Regions from separate parts of the Homo sapiens genome. Here regions 2, 3, 4, 5, 6 and 7 are each linked to region 1. The links are contacts of gene promoters, found by promoter capture Hi-C in blood cells and fetal thymus (Javierre and others, 2016). All regions are on one chromosome and are shown on one strand. Each heading gives the region's core, a stretch centred on a gene start or on the middle of the fragment in contact. The rest is flanking DNA. Distances are from core to core; before and after follow the strand shown. Region 1 holds the start of ABCD3 (ATP binding cassette subfamily D member 3). Region 2 overlaps ABCA4 (ATP binding cassette subfamily A member 4). Region 3 overlaps ABCA4 (ATP binding cassette subfamily A member 4). Region 4 overlaps ABCA4 (ATP binding cassette subfamily A member 4). Region 5 overlaps SLC44A3-AS1 (SLC44A3 antisense RNA 1). Region 6 overlaps ABCA4 (ATP binding cassette subfamily A member 4). Region 7 overlaps SLC44A3-AS1 (SLC44A3 antisense RNA 1).

The links. Contacts are between HindIII fragments. The CHiCAGO score rates a contact against its expected background, and 5 or more counts as called.
Region 2: a contact is called between a fragment that was not itself captured here and the fragment with the promoter of ABCD3 in region 1, in 1 of 17 cell types (endothelial precursors). The highest score is 5.1, in endothelial precursors.
Region 3: a contact is called between a fragment that was not itself captured here and the fragment with the promoter of ABCD3 in region 1, in 1 of 17 cell types (M1 macrophages). The highest score is 6.2, in M1 macrophages.
Region 4: a contact is called between a fragment that was not itself captured here and the fragment with the promoter of ABCD3 in region 1, in 6 of 17 cell types (M2 macrophages, fetal thymus, endothelial precursors and 3 more). The highest score is 10.1, in M2 macrophages.
Region 5: a fragment that was not itself captured here is called in contact with the fragment with the promoter of ABCD3 in region 1 in 1 of 17 cell types (monocytes); the score reaches 5.4 in monocytes.
Region 6: a fragment that was not itself captured here is called in contact with the fragment with the promoter of ABCD3 in region 1 in 3 of 17 cell types (fetal thymus, M0 macrophages and M1 macrophages); the score reaches 7.8 in fetal thymus.
Region 7: a contact is called between a fragment that was not itself captured here and the fragment with the promoter of ABCD3 in region 1, in 4 of 17 cell types (neutrophils, monocytes, naive B cells and 1 more). The highest score is 6.8, in neutrophils.

What each region holds. Positions count from the first base shown.
Region 1 is chr1:94,416,916-94,419,819 of GRCh38, reverse strand. ABCD3 (ATP binding cassette subfamily D member 3) reads right to left here and starts at 1,431. Exons shown (of 23, transcript NM_002858.4): 1 at 1,232-1,431. The coding sequence starts at 1,341. RefSeq lists enhancers at 840-979, 1,451-2,242 and a silencer at 1,310-1,689. The HindIII fragment of the contact is 10,166 bases long and covers 1-2,904 here.
Region 2 is chr1:93,993,118-93,996,021 of GRCh38, reverse strand. ABCA4 (ATP binding cassette subfamily A member 4) reads left to right here. Exons shown (of 50, transcript NM_000350.3): 50 at 2,780-2,904. The coding sequence ends at 2,785. Among named protein-coding and RNA genes, the nearest start is that of GCLM, 85 kb to the right of the region's middle. The HindIII fragment of the contact is 2,044 bases long and covers 232-2,275 here.
Region 3 is chr1:94,010,858-94,013,761 of GRCh38, reverse strand. It overlaps ABCA4 (ATP binding cassette subfamily A member 4), which reads left to right. Exons shown (of 50, transcript NM_000350.3): 39 at 2,377-2,500; 40 at 2,833-2,904. Among named protein-coding and RNA genes, the nearest start is that of GCLM, 100 kb to the right of the region's middle. RefSeq lists an enhancer at 1,952-2,451. The HindIII fragment of the contact is 3,950 bases long and covers 1-2,904 here.
Region 4 is chr1:94,026,725-94,029,628 of GRCh38, reverse strand. ABCA4 (ATP binding cassette subfamily A member 4) reads left to right here. Exons shown (of 50, transcript NM_000350.3): 30 at 1-184. Among named protein-coding and RNA genes, the nearest start is that of ABCA4, 93 kb to the left of the region's middle. The HindIII fragment of the contact is 1,763 bases long and covers 391-2,153 here.
Region 5 is chr1:94,807,408-94,810,311 of GRCh38, reverse strand. All of the region lies in intron 1 of SLC44A3-AS1 (SLC44A3 antisense RNA 1), which reads left to right. Among named protein-coding and RNA genes, the nearest start is that of SLC44A3-AS1, 11 kb to the left of the region's middle. The HindIII fragment of the contact is 2,796 bases long and covers 46-2,841 here.
Region 6 is chr1:94,054,375-94,057,278 of GRCh38, reverse strand. ABCA4 (ATP binding cassette subfamily A member 4) reads left to right here. Exons shown (of 50, transcript NM_000350.3): 15 at 457-678; 16 at 1,964-2,168. Among named protein-coding and RNA genes, the nearest start is that of ABCA4, 65 kb to the left of the region's middle. The HindIII fragment of the contact is 6,519 bases long and covers 1-2,904 here.
Region 7 is chr1:94,778,727-94,781,630 of GRCh38, reverse strand. All of the region lies in intron 1 of SLC44A3-AS1 (SLC44A3 antisense RNA 1), which reads left to right. Among named protein-coding and RNA genes, the nearest start is that of MIR378G, 34 kb to the right of the region's middle. The HindIII fragment of the contact is 3,150 bases long and covers 1-2,904 here.

The DNA of each region.
Region 1 (2,904 bases), core at 182-2,681:
CTGCAAATCATTTTCAACTCTGTTAAATGGATTTAGGAAGGAAAAGAAAGATCATCACTTCAGACTCTAGTAAGATAAAAACAGAAGGCGGCTAGAAAGAACTTAATGGAAAGGGTACTATAAACTAGAAGTCTATTTGTGTTTTAGCCCAAATTTTACTACTAATTAGATATTGTAGGCAAATCAAACACGGGAGGCAACAGTACCTGCTCAGAGGAATGAATGAAATAAAATTCATGAAAGTAGTATGTCAAGATTTAATACGAAATATTCAATGACTGGCAAGAACGCTTGGGAAGTAGCCTTTTCTCTTTCACTTGTCCAGCAAATAAAAATTGCATGTATGTGACATACATACCTGTATGTCGCAACCGTAATTCAGCTCTCTCTTTTTTACTTTTTCTGAACTGATAACCTCCCAAAGTTAAATCTAAGCACTGAAATTCTCCCGCGGTGGAAGCAGTGGCGTGTCATTAAAAAGGAGCTTGATCCTCACCTAAACCACACTCTCATCTTTCACCTACAGAGCCCAGGAAGGAAAACATTTCCCTCTAAGTCCGACAGAACCGATCCAGCCTTTCCGGATGAAATGCCACCGACCAAATGTTCACCGACCAAAGGGTTCACCGACTCCAAGGGCTCACCACTTTAGACGGCAATCCTGCCAAGTGGACCGGGAATAGTTTCATAGAAGCCACCCTCGCGACTTTCAATAGCAGTTAGTCGGGAATCGAGCCAAACCTCGTCCAAGTGACTTAGACACCAGCCTCCAGCCTGGCGAATCCAATCCCCATCCTCAATCACACATCCACGTCCCCAAAACAAATCCTTCACGGTCTGAAGATGAGATGGCAAAACCAGAACACACCCAGAAAGTTGACACAGAAGGGGGTGATGTAGGGAAGGGGGTGGGGGACACACCGCATCCCCCTCCCACCCCCAACTGGAGGCCGCTGCCTGAGTGCTGGCTGGGCGCCGGTTCGCCCGCGGGCACAGAAGAATTCGCACTCCCGGGGTGGAGCGAGGTCGCCGGACAGGCCAGCTGGGACCGACGCCGTCGTGGCGGGGACTCGCGGACACCCTGACATTGAAGTCCCACGGCAGTCGCGGTCGGCCCTCTCTCCGCCCGACCCCGTCGGGCAAAGAGACCTGTCGGCCGGGTGGGGAGAGAGAGCGCGCGGGGAGCGCCCGCTCCAGCCCGGGAAAGCTGCACGGCTACGGGCCTTCTTACCCGTGCAGGCCGAGGGCGCGGCGCCGCTTGTGGAGCAGGCAGAGCAGCAGGAACGCGGCACCAGCCAGCGAGGAGTTTCGCGCCGTCAAGTACTTGCTGAAGGCCGCCATGGCACTGCCGGTACCAGCGAGCCGGCGAGGGGACGCGGCGGCGGCGGCGGCGGCGGCTACCTTACTGCACGCAGCGCGGGGGAGACTGGGAGGAGAGCAGAGGGCGGGGCCGGCCGCGCAGGACCGCCCCCTGGCTCGCGCCGCCGCGCCGCCCGCGCTCTGGAGCCCACTTTGTACTTTGGCCCGGCGGGAGCGCGCTCGGCAGCCTCCGTGGGCGGAACAGTTCCCGGGACGCGCTCTGCGCACGCGCGGACTCCTTCAGGGTCTCCGGAAACGCGGCGCGGAGGAGCTGTTGCTACTCAGCCCTGCGAGGCGTCAGTGCTGCCCCTGCCTCACCCCTACCCTCCCACTCTTCGCGCGCACACCCCGGCTTTCACAATAACTGGATGAGCGGGCCTGGCCTGCAGCGACGACCTAGTGGGCCCTGCCTCTCCACTCCCGCGGTGATGTACCGTTACCACCCTCTTAAAGGAGCCCAGGAAGGAGGCGGACGGCCCCGTCACAGAGCGTGTAGGGAAAACACAGCACAGTGATTATCAGGACGAAACCAAACAATCGGAACTCCGCAGAGGTGTAGGGAGATGTGAGGAGAATGACACAGATCAAAGAGCTTTTTCCAAGCCAGTATTTTCCAAACCGCGGGTTATAATCTCTAGCGCATTGTGAAATTGGTTTGGTAGATCGGGATCATCACCCTCCGTTTTTAATAAAATTGAGAATAGAACAAAATAGAAAAGTTTCACAGTACATCACGTAGTAAAGGAGTTGTTTAGAGAAATTTCGATTTCAGTGTTTTGCACGTATGTATCGCCAGCGGCGATGTAAAATGTATGCAGATCTGGTCAGAAAAAAGTTTGAGAAACACTGTTCTTTGCAAAGGGACATTCAGAAGTAACAATCGTGCGTTGTATTAATGCTGGCCTCACTCCCAGAATCAGAAGGGCTTTGCAGATTACAACATTCTTCTCCTGTCTGACCCTATGTTGCAGGAATTGTTATCGCCAGCATTGAGCCTAGCATATATACAGTAACAGTGAATCGCTGTTTTCAGCTGAGGAAACTGGAGAAAAGCAAGTGTGTCAGAAAATAAGCTCATAAAACCTCGCATAATGCACATACATATTAAAGTAGCCTACAAAGTAGTGGTGCTGTGCCCTAGGTGTTTTCTCAATATAAATGAGCTGTTGCCTAATACAGGTTATGAGGATCACAAAGACGAGGTACAATAATGGCATGCGTATAGAGGTGCTCAACAGTGAATTCTAAATTATGCAGAACTGAAGCTCCTACTAATTCACTATTTGTCATGTGGACATTTTCATTACCTGGAGGGACAAAAGGTTTTGGCCCTCTGAAAGTTAACTGAAAACCGCTGACATAAGGCAGATTAATAGAAGAAAAAATTAATAGGAGAAAAGGCATACAAATTTAATGTGTATACATGGGAGCGTTCAGAATGGAGACCCAAAGATACTTGGAAAATTGTCCATTTTTGTGTTTAGGTTCAACAAAGTATGGACAGCTATGTAGAAATGTGATTGGACAAAAATGGTATAATCTAAT
Region 2 (2,904 bases), core at 4-2,503, 420 kb after region 1:
GCTCAGATATGCCTCCTACAGAGAGCCCCACCCACACCACGGTCCCTACCAAGTCCCCACCACATCCTCATCACATCCTTGCTAAGTCCCTGCCACTGTGTGTTCTGTGCTGAAGAACTTTTCATTCAGTAGTTGTAGGGGTTCCTATTGTAATCAGGAAACCATCTGGATAGCATGGGAGAGCATTTTTGAAAAGAACTTTCCCATGTTTTTGCTTACAGCAAAAAAGCTTGGATTTGGGGAATAAGGAGCAGAGAAGGTAATAGAGAATATTAGAATGTTTTGGGTGCTTGACATCTATGTCTGGACATGTGTTTGAGTTTCAAGGGAAGGGACTTAACTGGCACATCATTTCAGTGTCAGACACATTTGGTTAGATCAAGGAATAGCATCTGTTGTAGGAAGAGGGCTCTTTGTTCTTTATAAAAATTACAAGAAGATGGAGAAAGAAGCAATAGGAGGTATGTCTCCTGGCTTGTGATAACTCTTGGAATAGGTGCTTGTAGGTTCCTGCCCTGGCACAGTGCCCCATGTAAGGAGCACACCACCCAAGAAGGAGAGAGCTAGAGCAAGTACTGGAGGAGGCACCAGCATCCCAATGCCTTGGCTTAAGCCTGGGATTGTAGAGGGATGAATTAGCCACTCTCTTCTGACTTACCTGGAGAGTAAATCAAATCAAATCAAGAAGCAAGGATATGCAAAAACCTTATTTCCCCATAAAGTTTTTATTCTGCCCAGTTTCTGGATTGCAAGAAAAACCAAATACAGCTAATGATTGAAACACTGCTGTCTAAAGCAGTGCTTGTGATGAATTTTTTCCCTTCCTCTTGACCAGCAGAGACCTAATGGCTACTTGGCAAAACTGACTTTGTCTTCCCACCCCTTACCTGCCAGAGGGCCCAGAAATGCCTAAGGCTCCTTTAGTTACAGAAAGTTTGCTTTTACTGAGATCTTCCAGCCACTGATTCCCATTTATAGATCTGGTGATTGCTGTTGACATCAGTTGAAAATTATTTTTAAAAACCACTTGCAGTTGCAAATCCTTTTTATAACTCTGTAACTCAGAATATAGAATTGGGTAGCAAAATTGTTTCCCAGAATTACCAATGGTCTCCCCACCCCTGCCTGGCATGTTCCCTCTTAAAGGACTAATCCCACCACATCACCTCTGGGCCAGGCAGAACATCAGGGGTGCTGATGTTCTGTGATCTACAGCAGTTAATTCCAAACTTTTCTCCCTTATTGGATGAGATCATTTTTCTATTGTGTTTTTTACATTTTTGTTCACAAAGATTAGAAAACCTGCAACACACTTATTGGCATATTTTTCTGATAATTTTCATCCAAAACCTAATTCTGACTTTACAACATACTATCTTTACAAAGGTTTGCAAAAATTCTTTCATATAGCATTGTATATGTCTGTCATGAAATAATAGTAAGTATATTATTGTTTACATTATACCACTTCAAAATAATTTCCTTTAAAGTATTCTTCAAACAAGAAAAAGGCAATTTCTCTCAAGAAGTTTTAGAGAGAATTTACAACTTGCTCCTAAGCAAATGTGAGAACTTCAGGAGGTTCATCTGGCCATTGGCTTTACAACTCCAAATTGTGAGCCAGGACCACACAGATATTTCTCTAGAAATCAGCGTTTGCTTACCAAGAACATTTTTACTCTCCAAAGGACTCCATCCTGGAAAACATGTTTTGGGATAAGGTCTTATGCAATCTTATACTCTGTTATTAAAACCAGTGAGGGTCAAGGTGTTAATAGATTAAGTAGTGACAGATGATCAGACAACTTAGAAACATCCTAAATAGGTTAATAATTATGTGACCATCGCATGTGCATTCCCAAATTAGGAACAACTCAGATCAATTTCTAATCCTTATTCTTACACTGTTCCAGTTCCCCCATATAACTCGTATCTTTGTGTTAGTTTCAGAAGTTTCTGAAGTACCCTCAGCCTTGATGGGGATCCTCGCACCACCTCAAATCCTGTTCTCAGCCCTAAGAACTGTGTTAGTCATCCTCTTAAGAGGATGTGTGATTTTAAATCAGATAATGGGATAAACCACATTTCGTCTAGACTGGTCAGGCCTTTGTCCAGTCCCCTCCTCGCCCACACTACCCCAGCTCCACAGCGGGCATTGGTTCAGGAATTCAACCCACACTTTATAACTGGAGACAGTATCTCTCCAGTTAAAAAGGTCACCTTGGTGTCCGCTTCTCAAGGAACATGGACATCTTTATTAATCAAAGCCCAAGCTTTGATCTGGAGCCTAATATCCTGCACTCCAGCTCTCATCTCTCCCCTCCCCCAGTCACACTTTCATGCTTCCCAGAGCCACCCCTACAGGAAGTGGTCAAGGGAATTCTATACCTCAGGGCTGACCTAAATTAGGATTTCTTGGCTTTTAAGATAATGGTAACTTTCTTAAGCTAAAAAAGCCCCAAAAGACCCTGTAAGAGCCCTTGGAAACAGCACCATGGGTGTAGCTTCCCCCCAGGATGTAAGCATGTATGCACACATCTCGTATGTGTGTCTTTGTAACAAATGCCTGGATCTTAGTACCAGGGAGACCTGATTCATAGATTTCATAGAGAAGGAGAGAAAGATGGCCCATAACCTGGGTGATCTGACAGAATCACAGTGCCCTCAGCTGAGTGCCCTTCAGAAATTGATTGACAACTGTTTAGCTTTTGAAATCTAAAAGTAGTACAGCATCTCAGAAAACCAAGATGACGCGAGTCCATGTGATCTCCTTCCACAGGACTGATCTTTCACACCGCTCGTTCCTGCAGCCAGAAAGGAACTCTGGGCAGCTGGAGGCGCAGGAGCCTGTGCCCATATGGTCATCCAAATGGACTGGCCAGCGTAAATGACCCCACTGCAGCA
Region 3 (2,904 bases), core at 405-2,904, 410 kb after region 1:
CCATGCTGAATGCCTCACTTTTATGAGCTGCCAAGCCCAGTTGTCCCTTCCACCTGACCTCCCCCTGTCCAGAGACAGATGGCCAAACTGAATCATAAAAAGAGGGGGAAAAAAAGAAGGCAGTCGCTGCAGGGCTGTCTTTACTCCACACTCCACACTCCCAGTCCCCACCGCTGTGTCTGAGTCCTGGCTGTGGCTGTCCTTGGAACATTTGCCTCACCACGTGCCTGTGTCCCCAGGCGCCTCAACCTTTCCTCTCCTCATTAGCTCTTCCCAGTTCAGAGGGTGGGACCGGCCAGCACATCTGCACTGCTGCCCTGCCACACCCACCTCCACCTGCCTCTGGGCCCCACTGGGGAACACAGGACAAATCTGTGCGGAGGCCCCACCATGAACCGCCCAGACCCGTGGACCCCTGAGACTGACTCTTTCCAGATCTTGTTAGGGTTTCGTGGCTGCTAGGCAAGTAACGAAGCCTCATCTGTCCCATGAATGATAAGAAATTCAGCATGTCAGAGTCAGACTCTGGAAAGGCGGGGGGATAAGAACACAGCCCCAGCAGATGGCCAGAGCACCCAGGTGACTGAAAGTGCTGCTTTGCAGAGCTGTGTTTGCCACAGGCTCACAGCCCACTAAGTCTTAAGACAGTTTTCCTTCAGAATAATTAAATAGCCAGCTTAAAGCAACTCAGAACATTTTCCCCTCTGAGGCTGCACCCATTTAGCCAACATTTGCTAAGCACCCGCCTTCAAAAACCTGGTATTTTCATGTAAATTATCCGATACACAGCTGCTATGGAAACCCCCAGTATCCCACAGGAAGCTCCCCAGCTCCCAGCAGCTGCCGGCCCGTGTGAGATCAGGAGGTCTTTACCAGCTGAACACCACGTGCCGGGTGTGTGCTGATATAAACAAGCGTGGCCCACTCGTCCTGCCCTCCAGAGGCTCCCGTTCCAGTCGGAAAAGGACCTGCCCACGAAGTTTGCAACGATATAAGCCACAGTGTATGATCCTCCATAATACAGCGTGTGACAGAGCAGCAGAGGAGCGAGGCAGATAACATGCTGCAGGCCAGAGGCAGCGGGAAGAGCCAGGCTGCAGGGGCTGGGGGAGCCGTGGTGGAGGAAGTTCAATTTCAGCCTGTAGATTTCTATTAGCCCATTTAATAAATAATGAAGTGCCTACTCTGAGCTAATCATTGTGCAGGTATTTAGGAAGGACAAAAAAATAATTAGGACTCAGTGCCCACCCTCCAGGGGCCCACTGACTAGTAGAGAAAGTAGGCAGATTTTTAAAAAATTAATCATGGGAATGTGATAAGTGCTGGGAGAGAGGAATGGATACTTTCTCATGGGAATCTTGGAAGGCTTGTAAGGGAAGGCACTCTCTGAGCCAGCTGTCTAAAGAAGAACAGGAATCTTTAAGAAAGCAGAAGGGAAAAGAGCATTCTTTCCTGCTTGGAGCAATAGGTAACAGCCTGCACATGCCCAGGCCTAGAGGCCAAAGAGCACAGTGATTCCAGAAAGAGTGGGGAGAAAGGGTAGGCAGGGAAGGATGAGGTAATGTGGGCGCAGGTGTGGAGGCTGGAGAGGGAGGAGGTTGTGGGACTGGGAGGAGCCAGATGGAATGGACAGCAGTGGCCCAGCCAGGAGCTATGCTGGCCTCGTACGCCTCGATGTCCCTTCTATTTTCTCAGGGGAGGCTCTGCCCAACATGCCAAGTCCGACCACTTGAAAACAAGTCCCTGGCTTAACACAGACCCCAGAGAGAGTCTCCAACCCTCCTCTCCCTAGACAATGGTAGTTGCCCTGTGAGGGGCTGAAAAGCAGAGCTGGAGATGGCTCAGGGCCTGGTGTTAACAAATGCCTTGAGGGCTCCTGTTGTTTCAAAGTGAGTCTGCAGGGAGAGCTCCCTAAGTGGACAGCAGGAGGGCTGCAGCTTCTCTGCACATTCCTGCTGTCACCCCCAGAGTCACCTAGGGGAGGGGTAAGGACAGTAATGCAGGTTCCTCACAGTTAGCCTCGGTGCCCACATGGTACTGAGCATAGTAAATGTTTAGAAGATGCTGCCTGGCTAGACAAAGGGGAAGCTCCCGCCCACTAGAAACTTGCAGGGAGCCCCAGTCCTTGATTGGTCATTTAATTGATTAGCTCCTTGGCCTGGCCTTGAGGCACTGCTTGTAAGTACTTCATGACCTCCATTGCAAACCCATGATGCTCTGCTGGACAAATCCCTCCAGTGGCCAGTCTGGCTGCAAGGACTCTCTGTCTGCAGGCCTTGCCCTGTGCTGTCCTGTGAGAGCATCTGGGCCCCACCTGCTGAAGAGAGGGGGGGTGGGGTTTGCCCCGTTTCCAACAGTCCTACTTCTCTGTTTCAGACGCTGCTCAGGTTCAACGCCGTGCTGAGGAAGCTGCTCATTGTCTTCCCCCACTTCTGCCTGGGCCGGGGCCTCATTGACCTTGCACTGAGCCAGGCTGTGACAGATGTCTATGCCCGGTTTGGTGGGTGGTAGCCGAGGCCCATGGAGCATGGGCCCTGGGTCCAAAGCTGGGAGGGTTACCGGGGGGGCTCCTGCATCAGACTGTGGCAGGGGCTGGTGCTAGGAGGGGACCTTGTTGGGCTGGAGGTGTCCTGCCAGCTGGAGAGGATTAGGGTGCCTCTGTTTCCATGGCTGGGGAGCCACAGGAGGGATGGAGGGCAGCCCTTATGAGGCGGGTGTTTGGCTCTTGCTCAGTTCCCACATAAGGCCTGGTCTAGTGGGCCCTGTGCTGTGGCCAGGTCTGTGGGGTGAGCTGGGGCGGCTGAAGTGGACTCAATTCCTGTTGATGCCCAGGTGAGGAGCACTCTGCAAATCCGTTCCACTGGGACCTGATTGGGAAGAACCTGTTTGCCATGGTGGTGGAAG
Region 4 (2,904 bases), core at 23-2,522, 390 kb after region 1:
GTACCCCTGTGGCAACTCAACACCCTGGAAGACTCCTTCTGTGTCCCCAAACATCACCCAGCTGTTCCAGAAGCAGAAATGGACACAGGTCAACCCTTCACCATCCTGCAGGTGCAGCACCAGGGAGAAGCTCACCATGCTGCCAGAGTGCCCCGAGGGTGCCGGGGGCCTCCCGCCCCCCCAGGTACCTGACCTCCAAACAACGGGGCCCCAGGTCTGCCTGCCACAGAGGGACTAGGGGAGTCCCTGGTATCTCCTGAGTCTCTCACAAACTAACATTTCAAACTGGCAGTTGAGTAGGGGACTAAACCAAACTCCCTGCACCCTCTGGGAGGGGCTCCCCACAGGGCGCTGTGGCTGCCAACTGGAGGAAGCCACTCACCAAAAGCTTCATTTTCCACCAGATACTTCCTATTTGATCTAGTAGAAAAAATGTGTTTAAGCACTAAAAAAAATTAAGTCATATGTGCTCATTATAGAAAAATTAGAAAACACAGGTAAGTCAGAAGGAAAAAAAATCATCGCTTGGATATAAACACAGATAATGTTTGGTTTGCAGCCACCCAAACAGATTATATTCCAAATATTGTCTTAAAATCTGATTTACTGCATAATTTACTAGGAACATGCATCCATGTCAATAAATAGACATCTGCATCACTTTTAATATCTGTATATTATCCCATTGTTTGAATTTCTTTTTTTTTTTTTTTTTTTTTTTTGAGACAGAGTCTCTCTCTGTCACCCAGGTTGGAGTGCAGCGGTGTGATCTCGGCTCACTGCAACCTCTGCCTCCCAGGTTCAATTCTTGTGCCTCAGCCCCCCCGAGTAGTGGGGATTACAGGCATGCACCATCATGCCCGCCTAATTTTTTTGGTAGTTTTAGTACAGATGGGGTTTTACCATGTTGGCCAGGCTGGTGTTGAACTCCTGGCCTCAAGTGATCTACCCACTTCTGCCTACCAGAGTGCTAGGATTACAAGCGTCAGCCACTGCTCCTGGCCTAAAGTTACTTTAAATTAACTGATCTCCCATTATTCGCCACTTAGGTTTTTTAGTTTTCACCATTATAAGCAATGCTATGATGTACATTCAAATGGAAATGTGTTTACACACTTATTAACAGTCTTAATTAAGAAGCTCTCCATGTGCTGTGTCTCTAACATCTGCAGGTATGTACACAAATACATGCACAGCCAGCATCCATCTTTTGCAGGGACATTAATGATCTTGGCTCTGAGCAGCACCCTGTCCTGGGAGTTCTAAAGTCCAGAACAGATTACAGTGAGCATCTCCTGGGGGATTTAGAGACATCAAAGAAGGCTGTGTCCGTGGTTGATAATGGGCCTCCCAGCTGACTTGCCAGGGCTGGGCCTTAGACAGCCCTGTCCAATGATTTGTCAATGAATAAACTGTTCCCAAACAGGCTATGCAGTTCAGTGGGAAAGCACAGGTATGGGACACGGAGAGCCCCAGGTGGACTACTTGACCTCTCTGAGCCTTAATTTTATCACCTGTGAATTGGGAATAACTGCTTATTTCATAATATTATTATGAGGATTTAATGAAATCATGTGGGCAAGGAATTATTTAGAATTAGATTCAACTCAAGTGATGACAACCCCAAACTAACAGCAGATAAAACAAGACACAACTTGTTTCTCACTCATCTAAAAGTCTACGTGGGTGGTGCACGATGTTCTATTCTCTTTCTCCTCCACACTAAACAGGCCTCAGCCTCATCAGCCAATAAGGCAGGAGCTGCCTTCCAGGCAGCGGAATGGAAGAAGGATGAAGCAAAACAGAGGGCAGAGTGTGCACATGTGCTATGTTTAGGGAAGGTTTTCTGAAGTTCCCACATAGTACTTCCACTTACAAACCCAACAAAAAAGGCTATGGCTAAGGCAGCAGGGAGGAGCAAATAATGGGAGCAACTAGATTTTGCCACAGCACCTATCACAGTCTGGTTTATAAATGGTTCTAGGCCAAGAACACCCGATCCCTGCTCTTTTTTATATTCTAAAGCATGTATCTTTATATTTCTCAAGCAATATTTTCTCTCTTTGAATCACAGCTCATCTGCTGCATCATAGGGATCCCAAAAGAAGGACCCAAGGAACTTGTCTCAGTCCTCTGTGCCCCAAGAGGAAGCTTTGCTTGTTTGCTTTGCTGTCAATGCTGAGGGCTCCTGTGGCTGCCTCCACTCAAAACCCTCCAGCATCAGGACGTCAAGGCTGTGATACTGTACCCTGAGCTCTTGGCCAGGGCGAGGGAGGGGAGGCCAAGCCTACCTACATGGTGTTTCATTTCCTAAACGAACCCTTACTTCCACGCGGTCTGTCCAGCTTAGAAACTTATTTTCAGTAGTGTTGGTCCTTGGTCCCTGGACAAAATGTAACAGCCAAAGTCCTAGAAAAAGGCAAGCCAGTTCCTGCCATTTTCTTTCACTTCTGCATTTCCTCACTATTATACGTGCCTTCCATTGGAGCAAAACTGAATGCCACGCATATGCACAGGAGCTGTGCGCGCTCTGTCTCTCTCACTCACTCTTTTTCTCTCTCTCTCTTTCTCTCTCAATCTCTCTGTCTCTATCTATCTCTTACTCTTTATCTCTCACTCTCTCACTCTTTCTCACTCTTTCTCTCAATCTCTTTCTCATTCTCTCTCTATCTTTCTCTCTCTCTCTCTTTCTCACACACACACACTCACAAACCCACACTCTTATTCACATCTGCTCACCCTAGCCACTCAAACACAATCCCTCATTCAGCCTGGAATAAGTCCAGAGGGCGTGGGCCTGATTCAGAGACAATCAGTTGTTCTCATCTGGGAAATGGGGCAATGTGGTCATCTCTAGGGACCCTCCCTGCTCTAACATTCTTTGAATGTGGTGGGTCCTGAGGT
Region 5 (2,904 bases), core at 194-2,693, 390 kb before region 1:
AATATTCCCATAATGCTTCTCCTTGGACACAACTCCTGCTAAGCTTTCAATCTCAGAGGTAACCACTGTTCTCAGTTTTGTTTACCCCCTTACTTAAACATACCTTTTTTTTTTTTTTTTTGAGACGGAGTCTCACTCTGTCACTCAGGCTGGAATGCAGTGGTGTGATCTTGGCTCACTGCAACCTCTGCCTCCTGGGTTCAAGTGATTCTTGTGCTTCAGCCTCCTGAGTAGCTGGGATTACAGGCACGCACCACCACGCCCGGCTAATTTTTGTATTCTTAGTAGAGACGGGGTTTTGCTGTGTAGGCTAGACTGGTTTCAAACTCCTGACCTCAGGTGATCTGCCCGCCTCGGCCTCCCAAAGTGCTGGGATTACAGGCATGAGCCACCGCGCCCAGCCTACTTAAACATACTTATTATTTTAGATTATTTCACTCCTTAAATAACATAATTTAGTTTGCTTTTTAGGGGATATTACAAAAAATGATGGTGTATGGTAGGGAGTCATCTGGAACTTTTTAACTCTACACTTTTTTTTAATGTGTGATTTTAAAGTTGAGGTTGGCTAAACATTTGGAATTTATGGACATAAAGATGGCAACAATAGAAACTAGGGACTATTGGGGGAGTGAACGAGGAGAGCAAGGATTAGAAAACTAACTACTGGTTATTATGCTTATTACCTGAGTAATGGGATCATTTGTACCTCAAACCTCAGCATCATGCAATATGCCCAGGTGACAAACCTGCACATGTACCCTCTAAATCTAAAATAAAAGTTAAAAAAGGCCAGGTGCAGTGGCTAATGCCTGTAATACCAGCCTTGTGGGAGGCTGAGAGGGAGGATTGCTTGAGGCCAGGAATGCAAGACCAGCCTGGGGAGCATAGCAAGACCCTGTCTCTTGCTCTCTCTTTTTTTAAGTTTAAAAAAATAAAAATAAAATAAAATTGAGGTTGGTTCTTTATAGACTAAACCAAACAATCTAACCATAGACTCTCTGACCATAGTATAGAAGGATAGAACAGTCAGACTGCTAAGTCCTTGAATTCTACTGAAGATAAGATGTATGAACTGCTGGGGACTGGTTGGTCTAATTTGTTGGCTTTCTTTTGTCTCACCATTTCCATTTAGTTGGATATTAGTGGTGTTTTTATGTTAATCACATCTATTGTCTCCTACATTTCTGCATTTGTGCAGGGCAGAGCCTTCCTATGAACAACCTCAAGAAATTTCCTACTTACCTTCACCAAGCATTTCTACCTGTGTCTGGGATGCCTCTTGCTGAAGCACTTGCTGGCACTCTGAGACACTCTGAGTACCAGTCTTGAGAGACCATTTTCTTCTTTCTGTGTCTTTTAATGAGTAATGAGAGTTCTAGCAGGAAGGCATTTCAAATTATTCTTTTATGGTGCTGGAGACTGAACAGAAGGGAGATTATGACCTGGTCTCTCTTGCATGTTCTGAGGAACGGTAGACCTGGAGGCGCTATTGAAAAAAATATCCTGTGGTTAGATATGGTTTAGAAATATTGTTCTGTATCCCATTTATTGCAGTGTTCATCAGTATACTAGAGATTTGACCAAAGTACCCGTGTGTGTGTGTGTGTGGTGTGTGTAACAAGTATTAACACTGGCCAAAAAAAAAAAAAAACGCAGCAGTTCTGGGTAGTGCTGTTAAAGACTACATTTTTTGACGACATGGACAACTTAATTTGTTTTGAAATATGCAGGGTCTTAGGTAAGTGGGTGGAATGATTGTCAAGGCACTTGAAAAGCCCTCCTCTCTCGTGCCTACCCTACCTGATTAATGTACCTAAAATGCTGTCTTAGAGAGGACAACTTTTTAACACACATTGGAGAAAAAATTAAAATACAAATGGCCCTGGGAGAGGGCATTTGAGTAATAAATCCATAATAAGATGTAAATGACTAATGCCAGATACGTTTCTTATCTCAGGTTTTTAGAGGAAGAGAGCTACACCACAAGGCCACCAGGGCTTCTGAAGGCTGAGAGCAGTGTCATGAAAGGCAGGGCAGGGGCCCACAGGTCAAACCGCAGCCTCTGTTTATCTTTCCCAGAGCCAGCTTACTGCAACATTCAGTGAATTTTATGACCTGCAATGTTCATTTGTTTAACTGGAAATGTAAAACTACATTTTCATTTTTTTTCTTTTTTTGAGATGGAGTCTCACTCTGTCGCCCAGGCTGTAGTGCAGTGGCAACCTCCACCGCCCAGGTTCAAGTGATTCTCCTGCCTCAGCCTCCTGAGTAGCCGGGATTACAGGTGCCTGCTACCACGTCCAGCTAATTTTGTATTTTTAGGAGAGACGCAGTATCACCACATTGGCCAGGCTGATCTTGAACTCCTGACCTCGTGATCTACCCACCTCGGCCTCCCAAGGTGCTGGGATTACAGGCGTGAGCCACCACACCTGGCCTATGTTTACATTTTGACTGCCAAGATACCATCTATTTTTGTTTTTTGCCAAATATCTGAAATAAATGTCAACATTTTTTTTTTTTGAGACGGAGCCTCGCTCTGTCCCCAGGTTGGAGTGCATTGGCACAATCTTGACTCACTGCAATCTCCACCTCCTGGGTTCAAGCAATTCCCTGCCTCAGCCTCCCGAGTAGCTGGGACTACCTGCATGCACCACCACACCCGGCTAATTTTTTGTATTTTAGTAAAGACTGGGGTTTCACCATGTTGGCCAGGATGGTCTCAATCTCCTGACCTCGTGATCTGCCCGCCTCAGCCTTCCAAAGGGCTGGGATTACAGGTGTGAGCCACCATGCCCAGCTGAATATCACCATTTTTAATAGGTACAAGTATAAGCTTCTAAAGAGGCAGGTTGAATTTTGTTTTCTAAAATTTGTTTGCATTTGGTAACCTTGTCTATT
Region 6 (2,904 bases), core at 217-2,716, 360 kb after region 1:
GATTCCAGCAAACAGTGATTCACAGGAGGCTCCAGATCACAAGTGGTTCAGGGCCCCACTGAGGGGTAGGGAAGCAAGACAAAGAAAAACAAAGCAAATATTTGATTGGTTCAAGTGGAAAGTCCCTGATTACAGGTTAGTGGGCAGTTTGTGATTAGTTAAGTTTCTCTAAGTTGGGTTTTGGTTTGCTGATGTAGGAACACAGAATGCTGGGGCCGTTTCAACCTAATGGTCTCCCAATTAATTTTTTTAACATTACTGATGACTGTTAGGAGTCTAATGTGCTACTCCTCCCAGGGAAAATGGCATTCCTAGGATTAAAGGAACTCAGCACATGGAGTGTGCGTAGAAATTTAGACACTAACTGCAGGCTGGTGGGAGAGAGCCCTTTAGGGCAGAATGAGAAGGCGTCCGGCCAAGGGCAGGAGTTACTGACGCATGGCCTCTTGGTTTCAGCATGGAAGAATCCTACATTACAGCGACCCATTCATCCTCTTCCTGTTCTTGTTGGCTTTCTCCACTGCCACCATCATGCTGTGCTTTCTGCTCAGCACCTTCTTCTCCAAGGCCAGTCTGGCAGCAGCCTGTAGTGGTGTCATCTATTTCACCCTCTACCTGCCACACATCCTGTGCTTCGCCTGGCAGGACCGCATGACCGCTGAGCTGAAGAAGGCTGTGGTGAGGCCCTTGGGCTGGCCCCTGTCCTACAACACGTTTCCTTGGAAGGGTCCGTAGCAGTCCTGGAGGCCCAGCCTGCCCTCTGAGGGGGTCCACTTTGCCTTTGACCTAAGGTTAAAAAGTTCACGTGAGGCTAAAATGTACAGGGGCAAAAGTGGGAGCAGTCCTCACCCCGAGCGATGCAACAGTGACTCCTCACCACGCCTGCTTGATTCATCTGCCCTGGAAAGTCATTAAAAAACCAGTTCAACTCATGGGTCCCTTTATTTACTCACAAGAGAGAGCCAGCAGCCCATTTCACTAGTTTTCCTTTCCTACTCTTTGAGAAGAATCAGAAGGGAGGGAGCTTGCCACTTTACTATCTGTCTAAAGAGATGTTTCCATTAATTAAAGGTTTTTGTTTTGCTTCAAAAAAACTTGAATTGGAGTATTTCCACAAGTATCTTTAACATGCTCTACCAATGTTTGCAGAAAGAAGTGCAGAAATGAGACTGTCCACAGAGTCAGGCTCGCTGGCCAGGAGAGGACTCCCGAAGCTGACTTCTGATGGCCTGAGAAACTTCCTAGTTCACAATTCCCAGACCCAGACAAAGAGCACTGTCTTTTCTCTAATTGTTTTCAAATGGGCCATTTCCACCCTCTAATCAGCCTCTGGCCCTGGAGGGTGCAGTTCCCCTTGTCCTCCGGAGTCTCCCTGTCTCTGTGCTGTAGAGTCAAGAAGGGACAACCACCTGCCCTCACTGGGAAAAGACAGAAAGTCTGACTTGTTCTCACGACTCACACTTATTAGGCTCCAGAGGTGTCAGGGCATCTGCCTTTCATTTCTTAGGTTAAATAAGAAATCAATTGCTGCCATTTGTAGTACCCAATTTTCTAAAATGATCACAATGGATAAGTGGCAAGAAATCCTTATGACTCATCTGTGGGCAGAGTTGGGCTATTTTGGTAATCCTTGAGTAGGCAGATGGAATTTGAGGCCATCTTCTTGGGTACATAGATCACTAGGAAGCTATAGGTCTAGCAACTGTGGATTAGGGCTGGGCTGAGAATTGTTTCATGTTTTTTGTGACTGTATAGCTAGAGACTCTCTTGTTTGCAGAGAGACACTCTGAACTCCCCCTGGCCGTCAAGGGAAAGACTGCCTTCACCCTCCTGAGCTGACCTTACACTGAGAGACAATGGGGACCCTCTTTTGGCCCTCCCCTCTACCTCGAGGGCATCTGGGTGCTGTTGCATTGGATAAAAGGCACTGCTCTTTTTCTGTGCCCTCTCCGCCTCACTGCAGAGCTTACTGTCTCCGGTGGCATTTGGATTTGGCACTGAGTACCTGGTTCGCTTTGAAGAGCAAGGCCTGGGGCTGCAGTGGAGCAACATCGGGAACAGTCCCACGGAAGGGGACGAATTCAGCTTCCTGCTGTCCATGCAGATGATGCTCCTTGATGCTGCTGTCTATGGCTTACTCGCTTGGTACCTTGATCAGGTGTTTCCAGGTAAGCATCCTCCTCTATAGGGTAAAGGTAATTGAGTTCTTCAGATCCCCAGCCCTCTCCATTCATCTAGTTTAAATTTCATTTCTTCCAAGCTCTTTGTCAGAACCAGCATTTGAAGTTTAAATCTAGAAGTTAAAAATCCACCAGCAAATCCTACTGGCTCTACTTGAGAAACAAATCCAGAATCTGATCTCTTGTCACCACCTCCACCACAACCTTCCCAATGCCAGTCTCTTCCTTCCACTACCACCTCCCATCAGTCCATTCTGCACACTGTATTCAGGGAGATCCTTTCAGAATCAAGGTCATGTGGTGTCAGCCCTCTCTGTCAAATGCTTGCACTGGCTTTTCCTCTCTTTCAGAGTAAAACCCAGTGTCTCAACCCTGGCCTCCAAGCTGCTTCATTATCCGGCCTCCAACTCTCTTCTTCATCTTACGATTTTCCCTACTCCTCCATGTTCCTCTGCTCCAGCCACGTCGGCCTCCTTACTGACTGTTTAATACACCGAGCGCATTTCCTCTTCAGGGCCTTTCCACCTGCTGTTCTCATGCCAGAAGCACATTTCTCTCCCCACAACCTGCAACCCGCCCCTCATATCTGCAGGCTTGCTTCCTTACTTTGTTAAGGTCTCTGTTCAAATGTCCCATTATCACAGGGATCTTTCCAGACTGAAGAGATCTACATAACTATGGCTCTGTAAACAACATTCCTCCAGGGTTCCTGTCCCCTTACCCT
Region 7 (2,904 bases), core at 263-2,762, 360 kb before region 1:
GAAGTTAAGGCTGCAGTGGACCTAAATAAATATTACCGAAGTAACCCCTGTCGTCCACTAGTTTTATGTCCCCTCATATAGCTCCTATGACTCCCTTAAAATTTACTACCCCTAGCCAGATCCCCTTTTTCTTGTCATTTCTTCTCAAATTCATTGTTCTTTGTCTAAAAAGTATAAAGACATCTTGCTTTGGGCATTTCTTTGGATTTCACTCTCTTGTGAAGATCCCACGGGCACAGTAGTTGCATCTGACAGCACTGACTTATTCACACCCTGAGAATGACCCTATACGGCAGATGCACCTGCCAGCAATGACTTAAGAAATGAGGGTTGCCACATGGAGGTTGTCGGGGGGAGCGTGCTAAGTGAAGGTGCTATCTAAACTACATGCTTTTTTCAAGCAGTTACAGTTTCCTGTTCAGTCTTCCACCACTGGACTATTCCTGTATGTAATTTCTCCCTAATAAAACCCCGTGTCTCGTTTGCTGGCTCTGGGTCTCTTGTTTGGCCTCTCAGACATGGTGCCATTCCTATTGGAGTCAATAGGGATCTGGCATGACACCTACGTTCCTTAAAACCAATACAATTAGTATGCTTTTATCTTGTTAATCTGCCTGGTGTCCATTTGGTTTCTAGTTCTAGCCAAAAATACCACCTAAGAACTTAAGGGTGTTGGGGTTGCTCGCTGACTCTCCTACAATCCTGTGCTCATAAAACAAGGAAACAGAAATCTCAGATATTCAATACCTAAATGTTTATCTTAAAGCAAATTCTACTTATATGGTTTCATTCTTTGTTTGGTAACCTATCCCATTTCACTTTATTTTTTTGGATCTCTTTTCTCTCATTTTCTGTATTAAAACCATTCACAGTAACTTGTATAGCCCTTCATTTGGAAGAGAACGTGGACTTTTTCTTTTCCAAATCATTTTAAATCAACAGCTCCTCAGTGAGTGCCTCCTAAATTAAGATTAAGGCATGACCCCTGCCTTCATGGTGCTTACTTTACGTGGCTGTAGGGACAGACAGGAACCCCAGGGCATATGAGATTGCAGATACTCCCAACAGAGATTTTGATGAGCACATCAGAGCATCAGTGGCTTTCGAGCTAGTGTAAGGATGAGTAGAAATTATTTTTAGACACTCCTTAGGTAGAGATGGGGAAAATCATTTTAGTTTAAAAGAATAGCAGTGGCAAAGGTGGGGAGGCATGACCTGTTTAGGGCTGGATGAGTACTCCTGGGATGGGGTACAAGCTGGTATCATATTGTGGAGGCTCTTGGATGCCCTAAGATGTTGCATTTTTTTCAGTAGGCAGTAAGGAGCCATCAGTAGTTTGTAAGGAGGGCAATGTGATCTCAGCTACAGAGGAGAATGACCAATGAGCAGCCATATCAGTGACCTAGGAGAGGCTCAGGGATTCATCCCTTATCTCCCAATTCCCTACTGAGGGTGAGGCACTGTGCAGATGAGCGGCACAGAGCCAGGCCTGCAGGCACTGGCAATCAGGCGAGCAGGCCATGCATAGCTGTAAGGCACCATCATAAATGTCTCTACCTAGTTCAGCAAGTGCACAAAGAAAGTGGGGTATAGGGTCCCTGGGGAAGGTGGGCATCAGGAGAGCTTTCTAGTGGAGATGATGCTTGAGCTGAGATTATTTACAGGGCGAGGAAGATGTTGAAAGGGAGAGAGGAGGGAGAAGGCATTTGCAGGAACAAAGCATGGAGGCATCAGCAGCGTGACCAGTTAGCCGGACTTGCTGTGTGTGGGTGTGTGTGTGTGTGTGTGTGTGTGTGTTTAATACAATTGTTTTGCTTATTTAAGTAATATTTGTTTGCTGAAGAAAATGTGTCAAATATAGAAAAACTAAAAGAATAAATCTATAATCCCACTACTTGGAGATAATCATTTAAAAAATTAGGTGAATATCTTTCCATTTTTATGTGAGTGTGTATGTGTTTGAATAAGAATAAATGTGTGTGTGTATACATATATATAAATGTATCAATAAGTAGAACATATATGTATGTGTTAATACAGCTTCATCTTCTCTCTCTTTGTATTGAATGTCCTGCTGCATCAGCTATAGGGATAAAATAAGGTTACATTTCTTTAATATTCAAACAATACTGACTTGAACATCCACCAGCCCAGCCTGACAGGAAGTGTAGTCTTCCCTGGAGGTTCTCAAGTAATCTCTAAGAATGTGTAAGAAATTGCTACTTATTCCTCAACCTGTCCTAATAGTGGCTGCTTCCATCTGCCTACTGATGATATGTCTAAGATTTAAGTAGGAAAGGGAAATATGGGTAGATTAGTCTTTCCAGCTAGAGTGAAAACACCTCATGGGCCAGGAACCATGTCTTTCTTGTCCACTGCTGTACCCCCAGTGCTTCAGATAAATACCCACCACATAGTAGACATTCAATAATACACTAAATGAATGAATGGATTCAAACCTCCACTTATTCAGGCAATTAACATTTACTGAAGATTTTTGATGTGCTGAGTTCTGTGCTGGGGATTAGAAGTGTACATGCAAACAAAATAAAACTTTCATCTTTGATGGGCATGAAGATAAGCATTTAAAAAAACAAACAAACTCAGCTTCCATGGGAGTCAGTGAGATTCTTAGCATCTGAGGTATTCAAACAGACACCAAAGACTACTGACCAAGACTGTAGAAGGGATTCTTGCTTGGGAGAAATGCTGGACTTAAATGACCATTAATGACCCCTCCAAATGTAAATTCCTATGATTGAATGAATTTTAGCTAATTGTTCCTAACTTATTAGTCATAACCAAACAGTTCACAGAAGGACTCCAGAGTAAATACAATTACAAATGAAAAACAAATGTTCTGATGGGATCCAAATATTTGTTGATAACAAGTGAGATTTCTTG